3 separate regions of the Homo sapiens genome follow, and regions 2 and 3 are each linked to region 1. The links are contacts of gene promoters, found by promoter capture Hi-C in human tissues and cell types (Jung and others, 2019). All regions are on one chromosome and are shown on one strand. Each heading gives the region's core, a stretch centred on a gene start or on the middle of the fragment in contact. The rest is flanking DNA. Distances are from core to core; before and after follow the strand shown.

Region 1 (4,756 bases), core at 1,387-3,886:
GCTACATGTTTTGTTATTAAGAGCATTTGTTTCATACCGTTAACAATACAGCACTAGTTTGACAAATTGTGGTATGGGGGTGTGAGTGCCTGATGGAGAAAGAGGCTTTGTCTTTTGGGGGGCCCATTAGTGAAACAACTAATAAGCCTATAGCAAAACTGATATGATGGGAAATGACTTCTATTCAGTTAACTCGATTATTAGTGCTAATTGGGGCCAGGTGAAGCATGGATAATTGAAATTCACAGATAATCCAAAAACCTCTATTTAACCAATAACTTCAAACTTCTTCCCCATCAAACCAATTACCGGAGGAGCTAACAAATAGAAAAAATGGATTAAATTGAATTTCACTTCCCCCAAAGATTACCACTATGATGTCTTTTTTATTGATTAATTCAGAGCAAGAGCCAAAGATTAACTATATTTTAGAGACTAAATTACAGATAGTCCCCAACAATTAAAAAGAAAAAGATTATATTCCAACGGTTTGTTTATAAATCAGTTACTTCAGTTACTTGAAGCTCAGAATGCTTTTTCTCATAGAACAAAGCGTCGATTGGGGTAGGGTACCAAGGTAGCACACAGAGGTCAGCCAGTAACCCAATGACACTGGAAATATATTTAAGATTCTCAGCTCCTTAGTCAAGTTCTTTTGAATCCTAAATCCTTACCCTCCCACCCCTAAATCTCTCTGAGCCTTCAATCTATTTTTTTAACTGAAGTAAAACTCACATAGCCTAAAATCAAAAGTGTACAACTCAGTGGCATTTAGTGTAGTCACGGTGTTATGCCACCATCACCTCCAGTTTCAAAACACTGTCCTCATGCAGAAAGGAAAGCCCCCTTGGACCCATTAGCAATCATTCCCCATCCCCGACTCCTTCAGACCCTGGCGACCTCGGATCTGCTTTCTGTCTCTATGGATTTGCCTCTTCTGGACATTTCATACAACTGGGCTCATAACAATCTGTGGTATTTTGTGCCTGACGTCCTCCACTCAGCATAAGGCTTTTAAGGTTCATCCACGTTGTGGCATGTGCCAGTGTTTCACTCCTTCTCATGAGTGAATAATATTCCATCGTGGGGATACAGCACACTTTACTTATCCATTCCCCCTCTTGGAGGGGTGCTTGAGTTGTTTCCATTTTGTGGCTACTGCGAATGCTGCTGCTATTAAACCTGATTTTGACCCTGTGGTGGCATAAGGAGCTCATCAGGGTGAACTGGAAGGGGTGTGCCCCACTGCTGGTGTCTGGTCAAGCAAACCCTCACCCCTTGAGAGAGGAGTCAGTGGGAGACACCACTCAAGTCTCCATAATGAGGGACAATTTCAGGCTGGGACAACATGGTGGAGGAAGGACCTCTTCAGAGAGGAAGTGCACGTAAGGGGCAAGGACCCTAGAAAGACCTGTGGGACCTGTGGAGAGTATGCACGTCCTTCAGATTGAGGCTGGTTTGAGGCCGGGTGCCATGGCTCACGCCTGTAATCCCAGCACTTTGGGAGACCAAGGCAGGCGGATCACCTGAGGTCAGGAGTTCGAGACCAGCCTGGCTGACAAGGTGAAACCCCGTCTCTACTAAAAATACAAAAATTAGCCGGGCGCGGGGGCACACACCAAAAAAAAAAAAAAACAAACCTGGGCTGAGTGCAGAAATCAGTCCAATCCAGGGAGAAATCTGGCAAATACTCTTGGCCAGCTCCTGTTTTTCTGAAAACATAGGTGCCAGAAGAGCATCCGGTAGCAGCTGCCAAGTTCAATACTAGGACTCCACTCCACAGACAATTCTGTCACCCCATTGTGGGTGTCCTGGATGCCCAGAAAACCCACATCTCTTGATAAAGTCCTCCTGTGGTAAGTCTGCAACCCCTCTGCACCCAGCCCCTCTGCTGACACCCCCTCTGCACCCTGCATCTTTGCCAAGTGGGGAGAGATGCATTCCAGAACTCCAGTGGCAGGATCTGCCCTTGCCGGGATCATGCAGACTTGGCATTTTCCAGTACCTACTGTTGCTTGAGGTTTCTTATAATAGAGCAGGATGAGCAACACGACTTCTCGTTTTGTAATTTGGCACATATGTATATGTTTTATACATACATGCTATGTGTCTATATGTACACACGGCAATACATACGTGTATATGTATACGTATATATGTATGTCAACGAATACCTAAATATATAATCATATGAAACAAACTGTTTATCCCTGTTCCATAAACTTCATATCAATTCAATAAATAAAATTTATTCAAAATCCAATCATCCCAACACATTAACATTTAATTTTTCCCTATTTTCTGTCTGTGTTTGTCATTGAATATTAAAAGTTTTGCTTTTTTTTACTATTTCACCTCTTTTCTAGGTAGTCCATAATTTTAAAACAATATATATGGCACCACTTGGTCTTCACAGCTTTCAAGACAGGACTGTCAAGGCAAGGACACTCCTTAGGGGACCCTGTCCCATAAAGTCAAATTATGCGGGATGAGTCAGTGACGCAGGAGCTAAAAACAGTGTCCCTTTAAAAATGTGCATGCCTTTGAAATGGAATAAGTAAAGTACTTGCAGATGCAAATGGTTTCAAGTTTCACTGGAGACCCAGCGAAAGCGGCTGTTCTCAAAGTTGCCAGGCAGTGTGGAAACGCCCACTGAGGGGCACACAGTGAGGCGGCCACTGGCTCTGTGTCCTTGGGGAAGCCCCTTCTGCGGTCCCCTCCATTGTCTGCGTGACAAAGTGGACGTAGAACTCCCCCATTTCCTGCCCAGGGCGGGTGAGGACCCTGCACACACACGGTGTGTTTGTGAGCTGTGCAGAGTGGGGTCTCCCTGGCAATGGCCACAGCCTCCAGGGGCGCTGACACCTCCCGTCTAACTGGTAGACAGTTTCTGCCTCTTCTTGTTTGGGGATTGGAGAGGGAAGTGCGTCTGGATGACTACTAAGGTAAATATGGAATGGGCACCGCGTCTTCCCTTTCTTCTCTCCCTTCCCACGCACCTGCCTGGCTCCCCGGCTCTCCCGCCCTGGCCAGAGTCAATGTGAGCTGCAAAGTCCATATGTGAACAGCTGTGGGCAAGTCGTGCAACAGTGCTCATGGGACTTACTACGCATCTAAGCCGCTGAACTTCAGCTGGACCCCAAATGGCCTTGGTCACGTTTTGTTTCTGTTTTGTCATTTCCGGCTGCATCTCCCACAGTCTCAGCCCTGCGCTCCTTGCTCTGCCTTCTCCTCCCCACAGCTTCTTTGCAGATAACATCCTGGCCGTATTATGCAACTGAACCCATATTATCCGGGGGAAACTTACCCTCCTCTGCTCTCTAAATCTTCCTTTTCCTTCTGGTTTTGGAGAAAGAGGAGCTCCTTTCCATCAATCAGGTCAACCTCTTCCTGTTTCCTTTCTTCATTCTTCGTTATTTTCCACTCCTGAGTTTTGGACTCTTCTCTCGGTCAATAAGTATATCCGAATTCTTCCAGCTGTAAAACCAACAAATGAAAGGCCTCGTGTACCAAGGCTGCCCCCGCGTGCGGCCCCCCGGGCTGTGTGGCCTTGGCCTGGAACACAGCCCCGCTGCCACCTTCCTGCACTCCGTGGGGGAGATGGGCGGTGCACACTACCCAGAAGTGGAATGTGCATTTCACAGAAAATGACCAATTTAAGCAGAAAATTAAAGCAGAAAACGGGGTGAGAACGGCAGACGCGTGTGTGGGCACCGCAGCGTACACGCTTAGGATCCCGAGTTTATTTTTCTAGGGCCCGTGTGTTGGTGCGCATGCGCGTGCGCCCCCACCACCTGAAATCTTGGTAGTGCCTGTTAACCCGGCAGTAGACCCATGGGTGAATTTACTCTCTTCTCTGTGTCTTTCTGTATTTTCCATGCTTTCTGTGACGAACAACATCATACATACCGCTACTTCTTTTTTTGGGGGGACGGAGTCTCGCTCTGTCGCCCAGGCTGGAGTGCAGTGGCGCGATCTCGGCTCACTGCAAGCTCCGCCTCCCGGGTTCACGCCATTCTCCTGCCTCAACCTCCCAAGTAGCTGGGACTACAGGCGTCCGCCACTACGCCTGGGTAATTTTTTGTATTTTTAGTAGAGACGGGGTTTCACCGCGTTACCCAGGATAGTCTCGATCTCCTGACCTCGTGATCCGCCCACCTCGGCCTCCCAAAGTGTTGGGATTACAGGCGTGAGCCACCGCGCCCGGCCACATATCACTTCTTCTATTGTGCATTCACTGCACACCAAGCACTTCTATTGGGCGTTCACTACACACCAAGCCTAAGTAAGGGCTTTCTGTGCACGCTCTCATTTCATGCTTATGACACTCTGAGAATTAAGACCATTTTGGCCCCTGTCTTACAGATGAGGAGGCTGAGGCCTAGTGCTCCTAGCGGGCTTGGTCAAGAGCAGGAGGCGGAGGTGGTGGAAGGCTGTTTCCCTGCGGTGAGTGCTCACACGGTTGGCGGTGATTTCTCCGCAGGGTCTCACAGGCCGGTGCTCTCAGGAGCCACACCTGAAGAATGGCAGGACCCAGGGTGGGCAGAAGAGGAAGGTGAACTGAGGAACAGTTGCAACAGAGGCCTCGGCCAACCCCATGGAGGGCTCTGAATTTGAGAGCCCTGAGAGTCACTCCCCCTGAGGCAGGAGGCCAGGCGTTGCACCCATGCGCTGGCCACTCGCTGGGGACAGGCTGTGTCCAGGGAGGGTACCTGTGTTTGGGTGAGGTGCCCTTCAAGAAGGGCAGTTCCTGGAG
Region 2 (4,756 bases), core at 1,274-3,773, 41 kb after region 1:
CTCTGTCTCTCTCTCTGTATCTCTTTGTCTCTGTTTCGCTCTGTCTCTCTCTCTATGCCTCTCTCTGTCTTCCTCTTTCTGCTTCTCGTTGTCTTTCTCTTTGTTTCTGTCTTTCTGTCTTTCTCCCTCTTTCTGTCTCTCTCCCCCATTCCCCCGTCTCTCTGTCTCTCTTTCTTTGTCTCTCTCTCCTTCTCTCTGTCTCTCTCTCACTGTCTCTGTCTCTGTCTCTTTCTGTCTCTGTCTCTCCCAATCTCTTTGTCTCTCTCCCTCTCTCTGTCTCTCTCCCCACCCCCACGTCTGTCTCTTTCTCTGTCTCTTTCTCCTTCTGTCTCTCTCTCTCTCTGTCTCTCTCTCTCCCTGACGGTGTGGTGCATTCTCTGACCCTCCCCTCCCCTCCTTACCTTTATGACTGGCAGGTGGAGAGACAGCTAGTGACTCTTCTGTGGCCCATCTTGGGATGTGGCCCTGGGCAGTACTCACTGGAGGTGGACAGGACAGCACTTGCCCCTGAGGGCCCAGCAGTCGGCTCAGGTCGCCCGTGTGCATAGAGAGGTGGAAGGTCAGCTTCCACTTCTGTGTTGGTTTCCCTAGACTCTGCCACAACAGAGCATCACAGAGCGCGAGTCCTAAACAAGAGGAATTTATTCCCCCACAGGTCTAGGGAGGAGAGGTCCAAGATCAAGGACCGAAGGTGGGTTCCTCCCGAGGGCAGGGTGGGAGAATCTTTCCAGGTGCCTCTCCTAGTTTCTGGTGGCTGCTGGCACTCTTGGGCATTCCTTTGTGTGAGGAAGCATCCCCTGGTCCCTGCCTTCATCTTCACAGGGCCTTCCTCCTATGCGCATGTCTGTCCCCGTAGCCACATTTTCCCTTTCCATAAGGACACAGTCATATTGGATTAGGGCCCACCCTATTGACCGCATCTTAACTTGATCATCTGCAAAGATGCTATTTCCACAGAAGGCCACACGCACAGATATTGGGGAAATCATCCAGCCTGCAATGACTGCCAAGGTGTGCTCTGCGCCTGGCTCGCCTGGGAGGAGCTCCAGAACATGGGGCAGAGGCCACTCAGGTCGGGAACAGACAGTAACACACCCCCTGCAGATGCCCTACCGTTTGGCCTATGATCCTTGGATCAGGGCAGCGATGCGTGAAGGTGGATATTATTATGACTCTAAAACCACACTGCCGTCCTGCCCCCAGGTCCACCTCAGAGCTAAAAGGGCCCCTTGATGCAGTTCTTGGGGCACCCGTGGTGACAGCCCACTGGATGAACCCACAATGCACCCCACACTGCGCTGGGCTCGAGCATCCTTGCTGTGAGGGTCCCCCTGCCTGAGCAGATCTCACCCTGCAGATGAGAGACACGTGTCTACCACCTAGCCAGGATGTGCAGAGGGGTGGCTGGGGTCTCAGTGGAAGGGAAGGTGGCTGCTGTCTTTCCTAGGGCTGGGAGCTTTGAAAAAGGGAAAAACACTCACTCCGCTGAATGCAGCTCTTGGGGGACTGGTGGGCCAACCCACAGGATAAGAACTGCATTGCAGGGGCCGGAGCCCAGGATAAGGTTCACAGTGCATTCTGAATTTCCACCTAGCATGGGCTCCAAGCACTGCGCTTGAATTTGAAATATCAAAAGTATCGGACCTCGTGGAATTGATACATAGGTGAAGCACTTTTCTTTCTTGGTTGGCAGAGTATAAAGTTCAGTAGTATTTGCCTGCGCATGACTGTCTTTTTCAAATGAGGAGGGGAGTGGGAGGCATGGAAAGGAGATGGTTTGTTCCTAACAAACTACATTCCAGAATGTTCTCTCCAAGGTTGGAGCCCTTCCTTGGCTGGAAAGCTGTGTGACTCTCCCATACTCTGAACAGGGCCATCTTCATGGCAGGCTTGCGGCTGCAGTCTTTCCTGTGGATTTGCACCAGAGCTGTTTGTACCAGGGGCTTGTTGCAACTCATCTTGCAAGGGGAAATCCAAAACTCAGAAATGACACAGCATTTTAGAGTTGGTGGCAAGGCAGGAATAGGATAATGGAAGAGAGATTCAAGGTCCACACAGCACTTAGTGTTTTGTTGTTTTTTTTTTAACTTAACTTATTGGGGGAATAAACTATTAGATTTTTATAACATATACTTTGGGTTGTTTGTTTGTTTTGAGATGGAGTTTCGCTCTTGTTGCCCAGGCTGGAGTGCAATGGTGCGATTTCAACTCACTGCGACGTCCTCCTCCCGGGTTCAAGCTATTCTCCTGCCTCAGCCTCCGGAGTAGCTGGGATTACAGGCATGCTCCACCATGCCTGGCTAATTTTAGTAAAGACGGGGTTTCACCACACTGGCCAGGCTGGCCTCGAACTCCTGACCTCAGGTGATCTGCCCACCTCAGCCTCCCAAAGTGCTGAGATTACAGGCGTGAGCCACCGTGCCCAGCCTGTAACATATATCTGGACTCATAGGGCTCATGATAAAATGTGGGAGGTTCTGAGTTCCGCGACTCCTCCCCGGCTGCTTTCTGATCTTTTCCTTGTGCTTCCACAACCCGCTCCCTCCAATGAGGTGGAAAGTGTGGGTATGACGGAGTGGCCTCCAGCCACTGGGGGAAACTCTCCTGCAGTGAACATGGCTTGTAGCCAGGTCAGAGAGACTGTGGGGTCCATGGCATGGTGGCAACTTCTAGCAAGAATTAGAAGGAGAGACACACCCACAGGTCACGTTCACTTGTTGGCTGAGAGCAGTTTTCCTGGCTCATGTGCAGAGTGTCAAGGTTAGCAGACCTCAATGCCATTGGTAAATCCCTTCGCAATGTTTGAATGAGGAGAATCCCATAGCTGCACAGCTGATTTATTCCGTTTGTCGTTGGTGTCGTCATCATCACTCTCTGTTTTCCAGTCCTCATCTCTGGCTTTGTGCATTAGGATGAAAGTCCTGAAATGCAGTGTGAGTCTGGGCTCTGACATGTGGGCTCTGGTGAAAGTTGGCACGCAAGTGACTCCACCTGTGGGCTCTGGCATCCTCAGTCTGAACATGAAAGGACTAACACCTTTGTCTATGACCCAGAATGGCTGTGGGAATTAAACAAGATGAAAATAGGTGGAAATCGAAGCTTTTCAGTTTGCCCCCTAGAACGGACGCTGAGACCAGTGTGTGTGCTGGGGAGTTACAGGCCTCACTCTCAGGACGAAGCCTGCACTGAGTGAAGAGGGAGCCAAGGGAGGAGTCTAACCGGCCAGCAGCTGCAGCCAAGGCCTCTGCCCATTCCGTGGGAGTTCTGGACCTGGGGTTGGTGGGGGGGCCTTCAGAGTGGCCCCAAACAAAGGCAAAGGGACGAGCCTTTGTACCCGCCCTGCAGGCTGTTCAGTGGAGATGATGCAGCCTCGGTGAGGCCACAGCTTTGCATATGTCCATTTCAAATACAACAGCAAAGCTTACAGGCAATTTGGGATTTCATGAAGTCAATGAAAGTGACGTTGGAGAATTGCTCAGGACTTTCCCACGGTCACTGGCACACGGTTAACTATAATTAGCAATTAAAGAGCAAGTAATCACCATGGAAAGTGGCACAACAGCATTAAGAGATCTGCATCCGCACAGCTCCGGTTAAAGACGCCTTTGAGAAAGATGATACAGCGATGCAAGAGTGTTGCAGACATGGCCTTTCGTGGGGGAGCGCTGTAAGCTGGGGGGGTGTCTCATCCTGCTGGCTTAGAGTTTTGTTGGAAAAATTACACCAGAAAAACAGTAACACTGGAAGCCTTCTTTGCTGAATCTAAGGATTATTGCATAATTATAACTTAAATTTTGTATAAACTAAAATAAATTTATATAATTCGGTTTTATTTGGTTTCAAGGTAAAACCATCAACTGACCTTTTTTTTTTCATTATTTATTATGAAAGTTTTATTCTTGTTTAAAGTGGATTTTCCCTTACATAGCCTTTTCCTGGGAACACGTATCTTCAGAGGACATCAACACCAGCCTCTCCTGCCATGTCTTACGTCAAACTCAATCCCTTCTGAGGGCCTCAGCTGATGTCACATCCATATAAGAAATTGGGACACACCTTGGAAGTTTCAGTTTTGGTATCCTGTGGTAAAAGTTGGTATCTAGACAGGATTAGCCATCACATCCCCAAGAATGAGCTATGGCTAGATTTCTTCAGCTGAAGATGAAAGACATCTGCCTGCGAGTCAGCTCTAGAGGGTAAGAAAATCTAGGCTTGGGAAGGTCAGATGAAGAGGGTGGGATCTCAATCTCTAAAGACTTGGAATTTCAATCCCAGCTTCAGTTGTTCCATCAAGAAATGAGAAAATGACAACATAGAATTGTCATTTATGGCAAATTATGCATAAATGTAAAATAACTGCACTGCAGTTTCTGAAAACACTAAGATTCCTAAATAAACACCTGGGGCATTGAGATAGATCGTGAGAAATAATACACAAAAGTAGAGGCATGAAGGAGACCACAGGCCTCAGATGGCAACAAAGTGTGGTAAAAACCATCCTGTGTTGGGCCAGGTGCAGTGGCTCACGCCTGTAATCCCAGCACTTTGGGAGGCCAAGGAGGGTAGATCATGAGGTCAGGAGATGGAGACCATCCTGGCCAACATGGTGAAACCCCCTGTCTACTAAAAATACAAAAATTAGCTGGGCGTGGTGGCACGTGCCTGTAGTCCCAGCTCTCGGGAGGCTGAGGCAGGAGAATCACTTGAACCCAGGAGTTGGAGGTTGCAGTGGGCCAAGATTGCACCACTGCGCTCC
Region 3 (4,756 bases), core at 591-3,090, 43 kb before region 1:
AAATGTCAGGATTCACTCAAAAATCACCTCCAAGTTTCCTGCAGTTATAACACATATATGATTGTCTATATTAACCTTCTAAAACAAGCCCAAATACAAATAATGTAAGTTTACAAAGAAACATAAACAATCACGAAAGCAAATGCTTTCCTTCACGGTCATTACACCAAGTCAATGTAACACTCCTAACGATATAACACCGTGCTCTAAAATGGCGGCCGCCCTAACCCCGCTCGGGCCAAGAAGGTGCAGTTTCATCACCTACCACCTTGTAGGAATCTAAATGGAGTTTTCGTGGGTCCAAAACATGTAAAATGCTTTCCAAAATGGTCTACTATTCCCCTGGACGGGATTTAAGGATTGCCTAAAACACACACTCTCGACGGCCCCCTTAATGTTCACAGCTAAGCAAAAAACCTGGTTTGTAAATCATCTCCCACACACATATAAAATCCCAAATTCTAACTGTAATAACTTTCTTTTTAATCAATACCTATACTTTAAAATATGTAAATATTAGGAAAATCAACCTTACTTTCTAAAGTTCAAATTCTTAGCAGCCCATAATCTTTCATCAACCTAGAAAATAACTGATAAGCCAATCTTCCTGTGAAACCATTAACAGATTCTGCTTTTCTGTCACCAGGGTAATTTACCGAGGCTAATTTTAATCCTACCACTAAACCACTAATCGCATGACTCTACAGAATTGTCCCCAAGTTTACGTTGCTACGGCAAGCACTTTTACATTAGGAATTCACTTATTTATTAACACTTTTATTTTTTAAGTTGGTTTTAGGAATGAGATCGTCTTGCTTGCCTCTCATTTTAAAAAGTAAAAAGCCATTTTTGAAAAAAGGAAGCTACTTGAGCACCTGGGGTTGCACTGCACTCAACACAATAACGTTAATTTAAATTATGCTTGGTGTTACTCAAAGGGACAAATTATCATCATTATGCTAATGGTCATGCTAAAGACATGAAAAGCTTTGAAATGATTAATCTAAATCTGGGGGGAATATGATTATCAATGTGAATGATGGTATTTTCTCAAACTGGCATAAAAATGTTCTGTCTGTGTCACTGATAATGTCAATATAAATGATGCATCACCAAAGGCAACGTGCACTCACACGCTCTTCGCTCACGTTCTCGAAGCAAAGCCCCAGCCCACCTTTCAGTCCACATATGCCTTGCTTTGGGGACACACGTGTGGATGAATAGAAATTTGTTTACTTCTTTCGTAAAACAGAGAAAACAGGATGATTAAAGCCAACAAGACTGAGACAACGAGAGAGAGGTGTCTGGAGACACATTTGCTTTGGTGTCGACTCGACAGCCATACAGAATGTTAAAAATGGAGGTGGAATCTTCTGTGGGGTTCCATACTAATAAATTCCTGCAACATGGCATAAGAGCCACCCTGTGAATTCAACACAGGTCTACCCAAAAACCCAAACCAGCATGTGTAAACAAAACACAGCCTAAGTGAAAACATCTCAGTTCTGCCTGTAGATAATTCCAGGGCCGCACCACAGAAGCTCAGGGGAACTATTAAATAGGATTGTCCATTTGTTCATTAACTCATTTCTTTAAAAAAAAAAAAAAAAGATGGGGACAAAAGCTGAGTCTTTTTGACAAAAATAATAATAATAATAAACATACTTTTTTGCTCTAGGTTAAAATCACCAGAATAATCAGGAACTAAACAGTGAATCTTCTCTTTCTGACCTGCCCAACTCTTAGCCTTATTTGTGACCCCCAGAAGTCTTAACTACTTATATTCAAGTCTGTGTTTTCCTGAATTAACAGTCACTCAGCATTGAATGGCAAACTATTTCTCACAAAAATTGTATCGGTGGAAAAAAAGTGAAACTTGTTCACTACACCCTTAAGTATCAACTGAGAAAGAATCTGCTAAAGCCACAAACGACCATTCTGTACAACTTTCAATGCATCATTTACTGTACTAAATTTCAAAGAACATTCTCGAATGCTAAAATAAATCAATGCCCAAACACAGTGTCTTGTCAGCTCATGCAATATAGGTTAAATAGTACCATATGGCAAAGACAGACACATGTTGCCCTTTTCTGAAACAAAAAAATTCCTAAACAAATGTCCTTTACTTTCACATGGGAAGAGTGGGGGATTAGAGAGTTCTTCAAGTGTTAATAGCGCTGAAAAATTTTTAATTCTTAGCCATTAACAAGAAATTATAGTTTTAATAGAGAACCTTGATTTTTTAAGCCTGTCTTTAACTGTGTCCTGAAAACTAACACCACATCTTCCTCTACGCACACCATCTCCTAAAAAAGCAAGAAAATAACAGGACAGCTGTATCCTGGAGGCTGAGCCAGCACCAGCAACTCCCCAGGGCGGTGAGAGACGTTGTCTACCTGGTTTTGAAGGAAAAAAAAAAAAAAACACCAGATTCCCTCTGCCTTGAAGATAACAAAACACACTAAGATTTCATCCCATTTTCACCACTCAGTTGAGGAACTGTCTGGATTTCACAATTACATACGATATACATCTCTTCTCGGCCCAGTAAATTCTGAGATTCTATAGACTTTACTTACTTCCTGACCAAGGTTCGGGGGGAAGGTACAGAAACAGGAATACGAAGTAAATCTACCAGAATTAACACAGAGTTAAAATACAGTATATGGTAAGATGTATCTAAACCTACTATAGTTGTCTTTTAAATAATTTTTCCTACTCTCCTGCTTGTGTTTTAGTCATCACTTAACATATATTTACATGTTTGCTTTCTAAAAATAGTTGCATTTCTAATTACTCCTGCTTTGTAATTTTCAGTACCATTTGAATTAAAGATTAAATGCCAGATCTTTTTTGGAAATGACTTTTAAGGCATGTTGAGAGCCACAAATTACACTGCTTTACAATTCGAATGTATACCATCGGAAAACATCTCAGGCTAGACATAAATACGATGATGGCTCTAGCTTTGGAAAGAGAAGCTTCAGCTGTTCAAGTCACGTGTGGCCAGATGCAGAGCATAAGGAATGCAAAACAGACAGTTGCAACTGCTGGTTTTTACCAGTCCATCTAAAATACACTTCGTACACTGTAGTGGATGCTAGAAATTTCAAATACAAATGATGCATTTATAGCCCCTATAAATATATCCTTCCTTATAGCTATTTAAGTCATTCCCCTAAAATATTCTTCAGTTAGAAAAATTAATTTTAAAATAAAGATACTTTTTAAAGAACAGGAGACATTCTAAAGTCATAGTAAAAGTTGTTCTTTCTTCCTCCTCCTCCCATAAGGTTAATTTTATTAATTATTCATAAATGTAAACATTTGACATGATTCTTTTCTTACAATAGGTTTGTGCCTTTTCAAAATTCCTGAAAATCGAACGATTCTGATAGTTCTCATCCAATGGTGGGTGGGAGGGTGGTCTTAACTGAGGGCAGAGGTCATTCCTCTATCAAAGAGAATGTCCTGCCCCACTCCCAAACTCACTGGTTCCTGGGACCAGAGAAAACTGAGGCCAGAGCTTGAATTTGAAAAATGCTGTCTCCTCTATGGCCCCTAGATACATTCCCGTAATAGGCTGCTGCCACTACACTTTCGGCCAGTCAGGTGGAAGGACTGAGGATGAGAGCCCCCAGGAGGGGAGGGAGAAGAAGGGAACAGCTACACTGTCAGCTCATGCCACCAGTTAGCGACCAGCCCAAGGGGAACCTAACCAAACAGTCGAACAACCAAATAATCACTGCTGCACAAACAGAGGCTTGTCCACAGCCCCCACCTCCATCTGCCTCCGAGAACCTCCACATCCCTCGGTGCCTCTCATACACGGGGAGATGTATTCCAACCATCACCCACTCAGACCCCACAACGGATGCACAGCCTGACACTACAATTCACTTGAAAAATGCAACTCTAAATGAGATGCAGCTCCCAACAACAGAGTAGGGGCCGCTTCCAAGGCCCTGTGAGCTAAATACAGTAATAAAATTAGTTCTTCACGTTTAGCCATTAACAATGCTGGAAGTGAAGCTCCAAGGTGCCAATTCGCAGGCAGCCAGGAAAGGCCTTTTTGCGGGATGCTAGTTAGGCAATAAATGCAAATTCAGGGAAGCAAGGATGTGCAAAGGAAGTCAGAGCGGCACACGTCCAGCTCCCCGAGCAGTGAACAAACCCACGGGTATTCCTTGGACTACGTTCAGTAGATAGACAACTGAACTTTTCCCACAGCTTCTAGAACTTTTGAGGGGGAGGGGGAGGGGGAGGGACAGCAAAGAGATGCATTTTTGAAAGAACTAATTGAGTGTGTCAGAATAGCTTTATCCAAGCACTAAAATGTATAAACATTAACAGCATGAAAGATGTCTGCTTTTGAAGAAGAAATATGACTTCCAAGTTCAAACATTTATAATGCAGATACCTAATCAAATAAATTTAACTTTCTTCCATTACAGTTCTATTACTAATAATTAAATCCATGTCTATCACTGAGAAAGTTACACATCTCCAGTTAAATTTGGCCAGCTGAAAACCAAAGAGAAAGCTGATATGTGTTTCCTGCACATTTAATAGCAATGCCTTCTTCAGTTGGAAATCTAGTAATAAGCGAAATACCACTTTTAATTAGGTAATTAACAGAAGTCCTTTTCCCCTAAATCAAAATAGAGTAAAAAACAAAATAATGCATGTCTTCAACATTTAAACAAGCATATTATACAGGAAAGTGCACACGTTTGGACAAGCTCCCTGCTGC

The links. The method cuts DNA at HindIII sites, captures the fragments that hold promoters and counts their contacts. A contact is called where the count stands out against the background at its distance.
Region 2: a contact is called between a fragment that was not itself captured here and the fragment with the promoter of LINC00908 in region 1, in 7 of the 25 tissues and cell types used here (IMR-90 fibroblasts, aorta, heart left ventricle and 4 more).
Region 3: a contact is called between a fragment that was not itself captured here and the fragment with the promoter of LINC00908 in region 1, in 6 of the 25 tissues and cell types used here (bladder, dorsolateral prefrontal cortex, hippocampus and 3 more).

Annotation. Positions count from the first base shown.
Region 1 is chr18:76,526,019-76,530,774 of GRCh38, forward strand. LINC00908 (long intergenic non-protein coding RNA 908) reads left to right here and starts at 2,637. Exons shown (of 3, transcript NR_015417.1): 1 at 2,637-2,945; 2 at 4,366-4,446. RefSeq lists enhancers at 2,379-3,019, 3,020-3,658, 3,156-3,235, 3,659-4,298. The HindIII fragment of the contact is 15,253 bases long and covers 1-4,756 here.
Region 2 is chr18:76,566,983-76,571,738 of GRCh38, forward strand. No RefSeq gene overlaps it. Among named protein-coding and RNA genes, the nearest start is that of LINC00908, 41 kb to the left of the region's middle. The HindIII fragment of the contact is 3,940 bases long and covers 554-4,493 here.
Region 3 is chr18:76,484,275-76,489,030 of GRCh38, forward strand. The region is part of intron 1 of ZNF516 (zinc finger protein 516); the gene reads right to left. Among named protein-coding and RNA genes, the nearest start is that of ZNF516-AS1, 5.0 kb to the right of the region's middle. The HindIII fragment of the contact is 4,856 bases long and covers 1-4,268 here.